Regions from separate parts of the Homo sapiens genome. Here region 2 is linked to region 1. Evidence: promoter capture Hi-C in 16 types of primary human blood cells and fetal thymus (Javierre and others, 2016). All regions are on one chromosome and are shown on one strand. Each heading gives the region's core, a stretch centred on a gene start or on the middle of the fragment in contact. The rest is flanking DNA. Distances are from core to core; before and after follow the strand shown. Region 1 holds the start of PITPNB (phosphatidylinositol transfer protein beta). Region 2 overlaps MIATNB (MIAT neighbor).

Evidence for each region. The method cuts DNA at HindIII sites, captures the fragments that hold promoters and counts their contacts. A CHiCAGO score of 5 or more calls a contact.
Region 2: a contact is called between a fragment that was not itself captured here and the fragment with the promoter of PITPNB in region 1, in 2 of 17 cell types (naive CD8 T cells and non-activated CD4 T cells). The highest score is 5.7, in naive CD8 T cells.

The regions. Positions count from the first base shown.
Region 1 is chr22:27,913,007-27,920,505 of GRCh38, forward strand. It overlaps PITPNB (phosphatidylinositol transfer protein beta), which reads right to left and starts at 6,250. Exons shown (of 12, transcript NM_012399.5): 1 at 6,166-6,250; 2 at 1,311-1,341. The coding sequence starts at 6,185. It overlaps TTC28-AS1 (TTC28 antisense RNA 1), which reads left to right and starts at 6,370. Exons shown (of 5, transcript NR_026963.1): 1 at 6,370-6,539. RefSeq lists enhancers at 5,450-6,435, 6,436-7,420, 6,591-6,770 and silencers at 5,701-6,020, 6,211-6,280. The HindIII fragment of the contact is 2,643 bases long and covers 5,049-7,499 here.
Region 2 is chr22:26,679,173-26,686,671 of GRCh38, forward strand. The region is part of intron 1 of MIATNB (MIAT neighbor); the gene reads left to right. Among named protein-coding and RNA genes, the nearest start is that of MIATNB, 10 kb to the left of the region's middle. RefSeq lists enhancers at 1,572-2,396, 2,397-3,220. The HindIII fragment of the contact is 3,895 bases long and covers 1,081-4,975 here.

The sequences.
Region 1 (7,499 bases), core at 5,000-7,499:
GGGGGGGGGAGTATAACAAAAAGCCGAGAACAGTATTTTCAGTGACAATACCAAGACTCAAAAAGATTTCGACAAGCTGATTCAACCAGCTGAAATCAAAAGAAAAAGTCTAACAGAAACAAGTGTCAATTTCCACATTCAACTTCAAACAATCAATTGTGCAAATAGAGAACAGGGTGCCTAGCTTCTCTGGAGTGTTTTAATACAGTGAATCCTCCTGAGATATAAACAACTGTGTTCAAGTCTACACTAAACAGTGCCAGACAGCTACTCTTTTTCACTTCCTGCATTTCTTTCTGTCTTCTGTCAGCTGTCACTTCTTAGGTTATCAGTTTGTTTTGTCCCACTTCCAAGTCACTGCTTCTAATCTACTGTCAGCTCTAGGAAAACCAGATAACTGAGCAAATGGGAACTGTGTGCAAGTTACAGAAGAGCCTAGAGGGTTTTATGGGTTTTGCTATATATATCTTGATTTCTCAGAAGCTGTTTCTGCTCTTATCTTCATTCTTGTCTACAATACACATGGCTATAACTGCAGGACATGCAAGTTCTGAATAGGTGATATATTTCTGTATCATGTCCAGACTGAGGAAAACAATAAGCTCTTACAGTTGTGTGCTGTTCATACCATGTCTGGAATACTGTTTTCAGTTCAGATCAACAATTACAACACATATAGTAACAGGACCAGCTGGTAGCAAGTCCACATATCATGCTGTATTAAGCCAAGTGAATGTGCTGGGAATGTTTAACCTTGAGACTTTCTAAGATGAAATAAAAGTGCTTGTGGGGGATGGGGTTGGCTGGAGGGGAGAGCTGCCATCAGAAAACCTGAAGGATTAACCACTACAAGACAGAACAGGCTTATTTCCCATTGCTCAAATGGGATAAACTGTAAACAAGAGTCAAGCATTATAGGAAAAGCAGATTTTGGTTCAAACACAAATGTTTAAAATGTCCAACAGTAAAGTAGGCTGCTTCTCTAAGCAGCAAGCTACTTAACCTTAAAGTACTTAAGTTGAGGCTGGAGCCTCATTTCTCTGGGATGTTGGAGAAAGAATTCCTGCACTAGACAGGAGGTTAAACTACATTCTTTAGACTCTTCCAAAACAAGGCAGTGTAGCAAGAAATTCATTATCATTCATTTAATTCATTTTGCAATTCTTTGCAATTATCATTCATATAATTAATTTTGTCACATAAGGTGGAATGAAAAGGTAAATCAATACTACGAAAATGTGAGTTTAGAGTAACATATCAAAGTACAGTACATATACCAATAAAATGATGCAGAAGCAAGAAAAACTCACCTCCTGAACAGAACATGGCAAAACCACACGGCTAAAAAGACAAAAGAAAAAATATATATATTACATATGAAATAGCTTTAAACACAGATCTCTGAAGAGGTTTTACCTTAAATCCAATGATAACAGAGACAGGTCTCTTAAATCAAAAAAATACAAGGGTGTCATTTATGGAAGAGGGTCTTTGCAATGCCTACACCATAATTGGGGAACTAAAACTATCATTCCTGGGTCTCAATGATCATTTGCATTTAGTGTTCCCAGGACCCCAAACAGCAGCTGCAGAGATTCTTGTGAGTAAAGAAAAAAGAGAAAACTCAACATTGAAAATTGCAGGGTACAGAACGTATTATTTGCAGATTGTCTGGTCAGGTTGCCCTGACTAAATTTTTAGTATGGTTTCATTCTCCACCTATATACTGTGCATTTTGTTTTTATGATGCTTCTTACAGAATACGTGTCTTGAATCTCATTGAATAAACGCTTCCAGAAACTGTTCCCCCACTATTCAATTATTCCTCAAGTTTACTAAGAGAAAAATAAGGAGTCGTGTAGAATTAGTAAGAAAAATTTTACTATGGAAACTACTTGAACCTTATAATAATCCCTTCCAGCATATATACAATATAAGGTTGACATGTGTTTCATCCTGTCCAAGAGTTTCTTATTGTATATACCAAAAAGATGTCATTATAGCTCCATTGCAAGCAGTCTTAAAAGATAAAATCCAAAACAGTATCATGGTATATTGTTTTATCAAAATATTGCATCTTATCTCTAGATTTTATAAGGAGAGTCCTTAATTTATTTCCACCATAAATCCTGAAAACCAAGAACATCCCTGTATATCAATGGTCTCATAATTATAGTTGGTTCCAAGACAGCAACTTCCTTTTTTGTGGGATGGGGGTATACGATCCTTCTCATACTTTCCTAATCTTATCTGTCATTTTATGGAAAATTTTCAATAGTTTTCCTCATTCCAATTTCTTTTCAGCTTATAATTTCTTTTTCTTTTTTTCTTGCAGTAAGAGTCATTTAGCTTATTGTTTGTATTAGTGACAATCTTTTTGGCCTAGGCATTCTTTTTTAATAGTCTTTCTTATTCGTAAGTATGAAGAGAGTAATAAAACCCAGATTATATCTAGTTTGCATTCCAGCTACACTTTCCATCTACTCCTTTCTCCCTACTCTCCTCAAACATCTATGTCTGAATGTTCACATTACCTCAATCTCCAACATGCACAAGTCTGTTACTCCCTCCCCTTTGACTACTGAGTTACTCGCCACTCTTTGTCTTTCTGGTAACGGTGATTCAAAAACAATGAACACTCTCAAATCCACAATGGTCACTAATTTCTACTCTCCATCAAGAATAAACTTTTTGTAAGTCCTTCTATACCTAAAAATTCCGAATCATTTCTCTTCTCAGTATACACTAACTTGCTCACTGTCCCAGAGCATAAAATGAGGGAGAGGAAGACTAGAAAGCTATAGGTTGGGAGCAGATTATCAGGACCTGGAATACTATGGTAAGAAATCCATTAAATTCATCAGGCAATAAGGAATCCCAAAAGGTTGGTCCAAGAGGTAAGTGACAACTACTGCTGACCTGAAGAAGTCATCTGCAGGTGGTTGAAAACACTGACAAGCAGGAGAAGTGGGGAAAGCTATCTTTTGGGAGGCTAGGCAAGAACTGTCACAAAGGCCTGAACCAAGATGATGGACTGCAGAGGGAATGGAAGGAAGGGATAGAGAAAGAAGAGTTAGTCTTCCCTTAAGTTTCACAAAACCAAAGAATCACTGCTGAGTAATTTTACACTCACTAACAGGAAGATCCCTATTTTTATTTAAGAACACTTTCAAGGAAATTCTTTCAAAAAATTAAAGTGACTGATTAAGACATTCAGAACAATGAGTCAAGTAACTTCTTCAAGATTTGCTTAACAAGTAAAAGGGAAAAGGAACATACAGGCTTTGATTTTCTGTTGTTATTCTAAAAGCAGTATTCAACTTTCAGTGCCAGTTGAAAATGTTCAAATGTCTGAAAATCCTCATAAAAATAATTTCCAAATGGAATCAGTAACTAGTTCTTTAAAACCAGGACTTTACATTAATGGTAACTTCATCTACTGCTTAAATAATAACTTGAAGGGAAACAGCCCACCTCGAAAGTCATTTCTAACATTTTAATTCTTATAAAAAAATAAATAGAGGGCCAGGTGCGGTGACTCACACCTGTAATCCCAGCACTTAGTGGGCGGATCACCTGAGGTCATGAGTTCCAGACCAGCCTGGCCAGCAGGGTGAAACCCTGTCTCTACTAAAAATACAAAAAATTTAGCCGGTCATGGTGGCGTGCGCCTGTAGTCCCAGCTACTTGGGAGGCTGAGGCAGGAAAATCGCTTGAACCTGGGAGGCGGAGGTTGCAGTGAGCAGAGATCATGCCACTGCACTCCAGCCTGGGCAACAGAGACTCCGCCTCAAAAAAAAAACATAAAAATAAAAAAGAATTTTATAAGACAACAAACATTTGCCAAAGTATTTTAGTTACCAATATCTTCACATAGGAATAAGCTATTCATTGCTCCTAACCAACAAGAATTTTAGAAAGTTGACTTGAGAGTAAGAAGTATCAATTTTTCATTGAACAACACTGAATTCTTTAGAGCATGTTAGGCCTAGATGCTGTGCTAGATACCGACATTACTTAAGAAACAGCTTCTACCTTCAAAAAGTCTAGGAGGAAAAAAAATCTAGGGGAGATACACATGAAGAGTTAACATCAAGAAACTTAATTTATAACTCTTTGGGAAAAATAATTAGACTTTGGGCACGTGTCAACATTCATTATCTGGGTACATTTAAATCTTCATAATGAAAGCAAATGTTTGCAAAAAGCACAGTGCGCAAATTCCCAATAGGAACTGCTTTCCAAGAGTTAGCTTCATACTACTCACATACTGTCAAAGGGATCTACTGAATACTGTGTGTCTGTAACACTTTTGGAGGGAGGAAATACTCCAATGAAAGAAAAATGACTGGATCTATTTAAAATCAGTTCTGCAACTCACTTGCTGTGTAACTTGGTCCAAGTCAATTTCCTTCTTATTTTCTCCATTTGTTTTAGTGTCTGCCACCCATCTACCCACATCATCTAGAAGTCAGAGTAATGAACACTTGTTTGATACACTGTATAAACGACTTGGAAGAAAAGTTTTATATAAACCCAATATTCAGTACTATAAATAAGCTTTAATTGAGAATTTTCACTCTACCAAAAAAAGGCAAAATGTCTCTTCTCAAAATCCCTGTCACTGACCAAAGTTATCATTTTTCATCAATTCATTAACAAATATTTACTGAGCACCTATTACATGCGAGGGACTATTCTAAAAACTGGGGATATGAGAGTGAGCAAAACAAACTCATGGCCCTTACATGTAAAAAGAGAACACAACTAGTAGGAGAAAAATAATAATAATAAATTGTATTGGCATGTTGGATGGTGATAAGTACTATGGAGACCGATAAAGCAGGGAAGACAAATACCACCCCAAATAGTGGGAACTACAATTAGGTCTTCAGAAAGGGATTCCCTGAGAAGGTGACGTCTGAGCAAAGACCTGGAAGAAGGTGAGTTAGTGTGCCAAGGGAAGAACACTTCAAGCAAAGGGAACAAAAGCAGGTGGAAAGGTCTTGAACTGAACTTATTCTAGAGTAGCAGAGGAACAGCAAGGAAGCTTGCGAAGATGGAATGGGCAAGGAAAAGGTAGTAAATGAGATCAGGGCAGGAAAAAAAAGTGTAAAGCCTTGTAGCTGTTGCAGAGGCTTTGACTTTTATTCTGGGTGAGACAGGGAGTCTTTGGGAGGTATTAAGTCTCAGAGAAGTGCATCAGTGACTTTTTAAAGGAGGTTTAAGAACACTAAAAATAAGGTGTCTGAAAAAAGCTAAATTAAGCCAAAAATATTTCTAAGAATTTAAAATGAAGAATTTGAAAACCAACGAATGGGCCATACTCGACCTCCCTAGCTGCCCAAAGGATGCTGACGACACGAACCAGCTGTGACAGACGAACATTCAGAGGCAAGCAGATTTCCGTAATGTTTACAGTCCTTGCCAGTAGGAAAAGCCGTGACTTTTCAACAAAATCACTTGGCCAGTCGGATGCACCTCGAAATCCCTCCATTTGACAGAGCACGTGTTAACTTCTAAGAAAGTAGGTGGGGCCCGGGATGTCACCTCATCTTAAAACATGCGGAAACCAAAAAGAGAAAAGGCTCTCCCGTCAAGTCAGCGGAGCTGCCCAGGAGAGCGGAGGCTTTCCGGAATCCCGGCTCCACCACGAACTTCAAGGCGCCAGCGTCCCACCGCGAGTCCTGACACGAGGGCTGCCTTCAACCGGCAAGCCCATCTCCCGCTGGTTACCAGGGGACTCCACCCCGGACGACAAATCACAGTCAGAACCAACGTGTCTCTCCCACCCTCGGACTGCGGCTCCTTCCCACCGGCGGGCCTGGGGGTGGGCCCAGACCCAGCCTGGGGGTGGGGGGTTGGGGAGAAGGCGGGTCCCAGCGGAAACTCCCGGCCGCGCCTTCCCGAGCCATGCGCTCGGGCCGGGACCCAGCCGCCTTCGCCCCGGGGAAGGGAGAGGGCGTGTTACCACGGCAATGCCTGGAGGGCCGAGGGGCGCACTCGCTGAGGGGCTTCGAAGGGGCCGGGGGAGGGAGGGGGCGCCCGCAGGGAGGGGCTGACACAGGGCTGACTCCGATTTAGGAATATCCTACCACTTCTCCATCAACAAATCTCCCATCACTGCCGTCCCACGGCCTCGCTCGCGCCCACAGACCCACTCACAATTCCTTGATCAGCACCATCTTCCCGGAACCCCCTCACAGCTGCCGCCGATACCACCGCCGCCGCCGCCGCTACCGCCTCTCACAGCGCCTGCGCGGCCCCGCCTCCCTGCCCCCCCGAGCCACCATCGCGCCTGCGTGCTTACACCCTTCCGCCGCGACCAGTCGCGTCAGCGCGCGAGGGGGCCTAGCTCCGCCCAGTTTCGTGCCCCACCCCGGGCACACGAGGCCTCCACTGCGGTTGCGCAGCCTGCCGAAGAGCGTGCGGCTTCTACTGCGGCTGCGCAAGCTCGACGCGCGCACTCTTGTCTGCTTACGAGGGCTCCTCCCTTCAGCTTTGGTCCCTCGGGGCGTCTGGGCAGCCTACGCTTTCCGGTGAGTTTTCCAGTTGGTTCTTTGGAAGCCGTTTTGCGGTGACTGGTTTTCTGCTCTCTCTCACTGCTCCGAGTCAGGGCCCACCTCCTTGACCGACACCTCACCTCCATAGTCCACATAAAAGACTCCTGACAGGTTCTGGAGGCAGCCGACGCCAGCTTCTGTTCCCCTCCCCAGCCCTTGGCAGCTCAGGTTCCGCGGGAGGACGTTCACCTGCTTCGCGGTCTCGTGGAGGTCCACCGCGGCGGAGAATCCTAAACCTCACCTGTGACTCGGCAGGATGAGCGGCCAGCACTCCCGACGGAGGCCCTCTGGGAGAAAAGAGGCCCTTGGCCTCGAGACCCAGGAAAGCGGGCTGTTCAGGAGTTGGTTCGCGCAGTTACACCGAAAGCGCCGTGGGCCTCAAAGCCGCAGCCCGGAGGTCGCTGGCTTGCTCTGTGTCAGACACGGTTCTAGGCAGTGGGGATGCATCTAGAAGCAGACACAGTCCCTGTTCTCAAGAAGCTCACAGTCTAGAGGAGACAACTCACTTGGAAAGAAAGCAGGGAGAATTTGGGGTGGTGGGGAAGTGCTATGCTATGAATACAGTGGAGTACTGGGAGAAGCAGAGGACTCAAGACAAGGGCTGTCTTAGGAGGCGGTGTTTGAGCCTAGCCTGTTAGGATGTGAGAGGGGCATTCCAGTTGGAGGGAAATATGACCCGAGGATGGAGTAAGCCTAGGGTGTTCAAGGATCAGCTAGAGGGCAGATGTGGCCAGAACATCCTAAGTGAGGGTGGGAAATGAGCTGGGACCAACTGGATTACTAGGCCATAGTAAAGAATTTGTCTTCTAAGAACCATGAGAACCTGTTGAAAGGCTATTAAGACGATTAAAATATCACGAAAACATTTTTGTATAAACATCTGGTGTATCTGATAGTGGAATACATCTGTGGAGTTAGGGCTGCCTCCAAAAAAAT
Region 2 (7,499 bases), core at 1,778-4,277, 1.2 Mb before region 1:
CCCAGCCAGAGCTGTAGTTCACAGGAGCGACCAGGAGATGGTGGTGTTGCACCAAACCCTCACTGCTTATTATTGGAAACTCAGTTCCTCTCAGGGGCATTTGGGGCTGGATGCTCTACGGGATACTCTGGAAATCACAGAGTTTTAGGGCATTGAGTAGGACTTGGCATGGGTGGGACAAGGATAGGGACTGGAGAGAATGCAGCTGAGGACAGAAACTCTGGAAAACCACTCTTCATTTTTGCGGAGGGCTCCTTTTCTTTTCTCTCTCTCTCTCCCTCCCTCCTTCCCTCCCTCCCTCCTTCCCTTCCTCCCTCCTTCCCTCCCTTCCTCCCTTCCTTCCTTCCTTCTTTTCTTTTTTTTCCTTTTTTTTTTTATGGAGTCTCACTCTATCGCCAGGCTGGAGTGCAGTGACGCGATCTCGGCTTACTGCAACCTCTGCCTCCCAGGTTCAAGCGATTCTCTTGCCTCAGCCTCCCTAGTAGCAGGGGTTACAGGCGCCTGCCACTGCACCTGGCTAATTTCTGTATTTTTAGTAGAGTCGGGGTTTCACCATCTTGGTCAGGCTGGTCTTGAACTCCTGACCTTGTGATCCACCCGCCTCGGCCTCCCAAAGTGCTGGGAGTGAGCCACCTTGCCCAGCCGAGGGCTCCTTTTCCTAACAGAGGCCAAGCCAAGTGACTTCCCCTCTCTAAGCCTCAGCTTACTCCTCCACCAAATGGGCAAAGTACGCCTTTGGCTTCCATTCCATCCTGCCACTCTCAGCAGGGTTCACTATTTTGATAACACTGGTGTTTTCAGCAATGCAGGATCCCCCAACCATCGACCTCTGAGGCCTAGACTATTCCAAGAACTCGCTGATGCTGTGAGCTCTTCCTGCAGGCAAAACTGTTCCTTCTCTCTCCACCTCCAAACACACCTTCATTCACCTGGATTGAGTTAAAGTGGCCGGTACTGTTTTCCGAGTGTTTGCTCCATGCAGGCTCTGTGCTGAATGGTTTGGACACATTGATGTATGAAGTGCTCAGAAATAGTTTACGAGTTTCATTACCACCCCCATTTTATAGGAGGAGGCACTGAAGCTTAGAGAGGTGAAGAAACTCACCCAAAGACACATGGTTGGAGGATGGAGAAACCTGGATTCAAGGTGGTCACCACACCCATGGGGCCGCATCACCCCAAAATGCTGACTCCGTCTTGTGGGATCGAACCCAGTTACTCTTTCTATGCTGGTTTCTCTCCTGTCACTCCTTCTCCCTGCAGGGTGTTCATTGCCCTCGGGGATCTGAGCACAGTTTGTGATTTCATATTTATTGGCTCATTGACTGCTCCCCTGACTGTGAGCACCACAAGGGCAGGGGCAATGCAGCCTGCTTCACAGCTGTACCCTGGGTACCCAGTACTGCACTTGGCACAGAGTTGGGAGTCAACAACATTTTACTGAATGAATGAAACAAGAGTCAGTTGGGCTTTTCTAGTGGGTGGTGTCCAGGCAAATTAGGGAGTAGCCAGATCCACCCCTTACTGGTTATGTGACTTAGGGCTGATGACTTCCCCTGTTTGAGCCTCAGTTTCTCCATCTGTAAAATGGGAATAACTGTGTTCCTTTCTTTTTCTTTTTCTTTTCTTTTTTTTTTTTTGAGACGGAGTTTCACTCTGTTGTCCAGGCTGGAGTGCAATGGTGCGATCTCAGCTCACCGCAACCTGCACCTCCTGGGTTCAAGTGATTCTCCTGCCTCAGCCTCCCGAGTAGCTGGGATTACAGGTGTGTGCCACCATGCCCGTCTAATTTTGTATTTTTAGTAGAGATGGGGTTTCTCCATGTTGGTGAGGCTGGTTTCGAAATACCAATCTGAGGTGATCCGCCCACCTTGGCCTCCCAAAGTGCTGGGATTACAGGCATGAGCCATCGCGCCCGGCCCAACTGTGTCCCTTTCAATGAAGCTACCCGGATTTGGCAAGAGAGCATATGCAACGTGTCTGCATGTGATGGGCTCTCAATTCCTGTTTCATGTGTTGATGGTTTCTCTTGGCCTTGGGCAGGTATGGCAGGCCAACAGGGTTGGGGGAAGACAGAGTGGCCTGAGGATTAGACCGGGGAGCAACAGGACCAAGTCATGGAGCAAGCTGGCCGGCAGCTCTGGCCTCTTTATCCTCTGAGCCTGCCTGTGGTGAGCACTCAAGAAGCCACAGTCATGGCGGCCCAGTCCCTACAGTCATCTCTTGCCTGGCCCATGGCCTATAAACAGATCCTCCCCTGCAAAGCACCCACAACAGCGGCGTAGCCATGTAGCCAGGGGGACAGAGACCGCTGTGGGGAGCTGGTGCTGTTCAGCCTGAAACACTAGCGATTTCCTAATCTTCACTCAAGAGGCCTCTCCTGTGTGAAGGAGGCTTCCTCCCAGAGGAAAGCTCTGGAATGTAAGGAATGTGCCAGAGCCTCCAGCCCAGGCCCCAGGAAAGAGAACATCTTGGAGGCACAGGGCTGAGGGGGCATTTTCCCAGCCATCTCAGGGACGCCAGGCCACCGGGGAGCTCATACCAGACATCACCTTCTGGCAGTGGGGTCAGGCCTCAACCGCCTTTACGCTTTCCCAGGTTCTCAGGCTGGAATGACGGAGGCCCCGTGGACTCTCACGGTCTTTGATTTCAGCCTCTCGCCCAGCACCTGCACCCCTGGATCTGGGGCCAGACCCTGTACTGGGCACTGAAGTACAGAGAAAAATGAAGCTGGCTCTTGTCTGAGCCAACTGGAGGTGGGACAGGTCCAGTGTCAAGTCTGGATTCCCATACTGTGTCACCTTGGACAAGTCACGTCAGCTCTCTGAGCCTCTGTATCCCCATTTATAAAATGGGGGTAACACTAGGATCTTCTTTCTAGGATGGTCACAAGGGTGAAAGGCCCCCATGTTCCTGGTGCCATAAACAGAAATTATTATTGTTACAAAAATGGCTGTAACAATATCTCCCATCCCACGTGCGCCTCTTATAATGTGACTTTGACCCTTCTCCCCTTGACTCTGGGTGGTTTGTGACTTTGGTGGAAGTGATGCCATGTGACTTCCAAAGCTAGTTCATAAAACGCGGGAGGGCAATACTCACTCTTGGAACCCAGCCACCATGGTGTGAGGAAGCCCAAGCAGCTTCAAGAGGCTCACGTGGAGAGGAACCAAGGCTCTCACCCACAGCCTTGGCTGAGCTCCTGGCAATCCTATGGATGAACCATTTTGAAGGTGGGTCATCCAGCTCTAATTGAGTCACTGCAGTGGATACTGCATGGAGCAGAGACAAACTGTCCACACCAAGCCATGCTCCAATTGCAGGTTACTGAGCAAAATGATGGTAGTTTTAAGCCTCTAGGTCTTGGAGAGGTTCATTATGCAGCAATAAACAAGGATACAGTTCCTTTTAAGAAACAACTTTGTTTCTGTCTCAGCTGATCTCAGGATCTTTTTTCCCCAAATCCTAGTCCCTTCCAGCATTTTCCATCTCAGGAAAGAGCCCCAGTCTCTCCGGTTGCTTGAAAAAGAAACCTGACAGTCATTTTTCTTTCCTTCCTCAATCTCTGTCACAGCCATTGTCGAAGTCCTGTCATCTTACCGCCTAAATCTCTCTCTTTTTTCTTTTCTTTTTTTTTTAAGAAGGAGTCTTGCTCTTTCGCCCAGGCCTGACTGCAGTGGCGCTATCTCTATCTCGGCTCGCTGCAAGCTCTGCCTCCCGGGTTCATGCCATTCTCCTGCCTCAGCCTCCCGAGTAGCTGGGACTACAGGTACCCGGCACCACGCCCAGCTAATTTTTTGTATTTTTAGAAGAGACGGGGTTTCACCGTGTTAGCCAGGATGGTCTCGATCTCCTGACCTCATGATCCGCCTGCCTCAGCCTCCCAAAGTGCTGGGATTACAGGCGTGAGCCACCGCGCCTGGCCTTCTTTTTTTTTTCTTTTGAGACAGAGTTTCACTCTGTCGCCCAGGCTGGAGTGCAGTGGCACCATCTCGGCTCACTGCAATCTCCGCCCCCTGGGTTCAACCGATTCTCCTGCCTCCCGCCACTACGCCTGGCTAATTTTTGTGTTTTTAGTAGAGACAGGGTTTCACCATGTTGGCTGGGCTTGTCTCGAACTCCTGACCTCAAGTGATATGCCCGCCTCTGCCTCCCAAAGTGCTGGGATTATAGGCATGAGCCACCACATTCGGCCCTAAATATCTCTTCTCACTTTATTCTATCCCCCTGACATTGCCCCAGTCCAAACCACCAGCCTTCTGTTTTGGACAGCTGTGGCAGCTTTCTCACCAGCCTCACAGTTTCATAAGGAAAACGGGAATCTTGATATATGAATGATGTACGGAATAAGAAAAATCATCAGTGTTCAGTTTCCTTCACCTCCAGTGCTGTGTCTCTGAGCCCTTCATTTGTTTTTGCCTGGACTGTTCCCTTTTTTCCCCACATGAGCCCAGGATAAGACCCCTCCGGTCACTACATCTTGTCTATGCATAACACCCTCCTTGACTAAGCCTGAGCGAGTTCACTCACTGCTTTGGTCTCTGGGCAAGCAGGTCCTGTTTATTTTTTTTTCCCCATCTAGACTTTAGATTTGGATTCAGTAGTAGATCAGATATGCATTGACACTGTCCATGTGCCAGGCTCTGTGCTAGGCACCTAGAATAGAGTGGTGAGAAGAAACTAAATGTCTGTCCTCATGGAATTCTCAGTCCAGTGGGGGAGACAGGCATTCAGTATAGAAACAAGAAAGTTAAATCCTTTCTACCACTGTTTATTGCTATGAAAAGAAGTACGGCAGGACAGTGGGACAGGATGGCCCGGGTGGAGTGGAGGATGGGCAAGATCAGGCGGTGGTCAGAGAGGGCCTCTCAGAGGAGGTGGCATTTGAGCTGTTAAGATGGAGTCAGCCATGCGACATTAGGAGAAAGTGTCAGCAGGGGGAACAGCAGGGGCAAAGGTACTGAGGTGGGGATAAAGCTTGCCATGCTGAAGGGACAGAGGTAAGGCCAGAGCATAAGAGGCTGGTGGGATGTAATGTTGAAGGGGCAAGCCAGGGTTGGATAACTCAGGGCCTGCTGAGCCACAATAAGGAATCTGATTTGACTCTAAGTATATTTGGAAGCCATTGGAGGGTTTTGTACTGCAGAGTGACACCTCTGATTTATGCTGTAAACACTGGCTTCCAGCTGCTGGGTGCAGAATGGATTGGAGGGGGACGGGGAAGCAGGAAGCCTGGGGCGGAGGCTGTGGAGGAGTCCAGGTGAGAAACTGCATTTATCAAAGACACCATCCACACTGGTGTTGTGGGGCTGAGACTCCTCTGTCTCCACTGTGGACCAGCTACCCTGTGCCTGTGACTTCCAGACACTTCTGTCTGTTATTCTTTAAAAGGCAGTTCCCTCCTTAATTCTGAGGTGAGGATCTGCCTTCACAGACTCACTTCAGCATCCTGAAAGTCTGCCAGAAGCCCAGTCTGACTGCCTGAGTGAGGCCTTCCCAGCACTGTGTTAAAAGCTGGGATTGAACCATTTGTTCAGGCCCTCCAATCCTAGCTGTGCCCTACCTCCCCAGCAACTTCATCCTCTTCAGAAGGGCTGTCCCCACAAATAAGGCGGCAGCAACACCGTAGTGTGTTGACATTGGACTTGTGTTCTTATCTAGATGTACCAGGGCTGTATGACCTATGGCAAGTCATTTTACCCTGTTTTCCCATCTCTGCCACCTTCACCGCCTCTCCATATTGGTTCAACAAATGATGTCTCACACCTGTAATCTCAGCAATTTGGGAGGTTGAGGTGGGAGGTTCGCTTGAGGACAGGAGTTCAAGACCAGCCTGGGCAAAACAGTGAGACCCTGTCTCTACGAAATAAAAAAATAAAAGTAAAAAAATTAGCTAGGCATAGTGAGGCACACCTGTGGTCCCAGCTACTCGGGAGGCTGAGGCAGGAAGATCGCTTGAGCCCAGGAGTTCGAGGCTGCAGTGAGCTATGATCATGCCACTGATTCCAGCCTGGGTGAGTGAGTGAGACCCTGTCTCTTAAAAAAAAACAAACAAACCAGTAAAGGGTTTGTGCATGGTGAGGGGCCACTTGGAATTGAGAAAGCAACCAGGTTGTTAGTACTTTGAAAGAGAGAGGCAGACACCCCTTCTCTCCCTGGTGGGGCAGATAACACTGCTGTGCACACCATTAGTGCCCATTAAAAGTATCCTTTTATGAGGGCAAACTGTTCTTCAAGTTCACCTTGGATATTCCTGCTCGGTGTGAACCTCACCTGCTTTATGAAGGCTTCCAGGTTCAGCTGACCTCACGTTCCTTATGTCTGGCTGGACTCTGGATAAACTTTAATCCAAACACCCAAGACACTGATTTGTAATTTTCTTTGTGTAGATCTTTCTTCCTGATCAGGCCAATGTGTCTCGAAATGAGGCCCTCCAACCACATCATAGTTTTCAAGGTGGAATGGGTTAAAAATACAGACCCCTCTGAATCAGAATCTCAGTGTGTCGGCCCAGGAATCTGCGTCTCTGTTTTTTTTTTTTTTTTTTTTTTTGAGACAGGATCTCACTCTGTCATCCAGACTGGAGTGCAGTGGCACAATCATAGCTCATTGTAACCTTGAACTCCTGGGCACAAGGGATCTTCCTGCCTCAGCCTCTGAATAGCAGGGACTATAAGCACGGGCCAGCATTTCTGGCTATTTTTATTTTTTGTAGAGATGGGATCTTGCTAGGTTGCCCAGGCTGGTTTTAAGCTCCTGTTCTCAAGCCATCCTCCTGCCTTGGCCTCCCGAAGTGCTGGGATTACAGGCGTGACCCACGATGTCTGGCTGAATCTGTCTTTCATCTGGCAAATGATTCTTGGGCTCGCAGATGTTTTAGAACCAGTGCATTACAGAGTGAGTTCCTAAGCAGAGGGACTGCATCGGATACAGCACCACGTACCACGGTCCCCTGTGCAAATCTTACGCTCAATAAATGCATGTTGCTTGAATGAATGAGGTTTTAGGCAGGGATGTGGGGAGAGTCATTTTATTCTTCCTAGAATCCCCCACACTCGCTGATGGTCCCCATGTTCGACAAGAGGTCTCACCAAATTTTTCTGCCACTGGGAAACTTCTCCAGTAAGAATTCCCCTATGCCCCACTGTATAATCTTCTCATTAATACACAGTATTGTAAAGGTGATCTATAATTAGATGCTAACCGCGTTTGCCGTAAAATTGGGTGGGCGAGGTCAACAAGGTAAGCTGGGAGCCGGCTGATTGTTATGATCAATCAATAACCTATTTATTTCCCAACATTTCTATTAACCTCTGCCAGCCAATCACAGTTTCAATTTGAAAGGCTGGGGTCTGCTTTGCTGACTGGAGAAGTCTGATTGAAAGCGGGCCTCTGACATGACCCCAAGGGCGAAATCCAATTAAAATCATTTTCACTGGTAGATTAATATTTTTAGCATGTTCTACATCCTGGGATTCATCATTCCTGGCAATAACTAA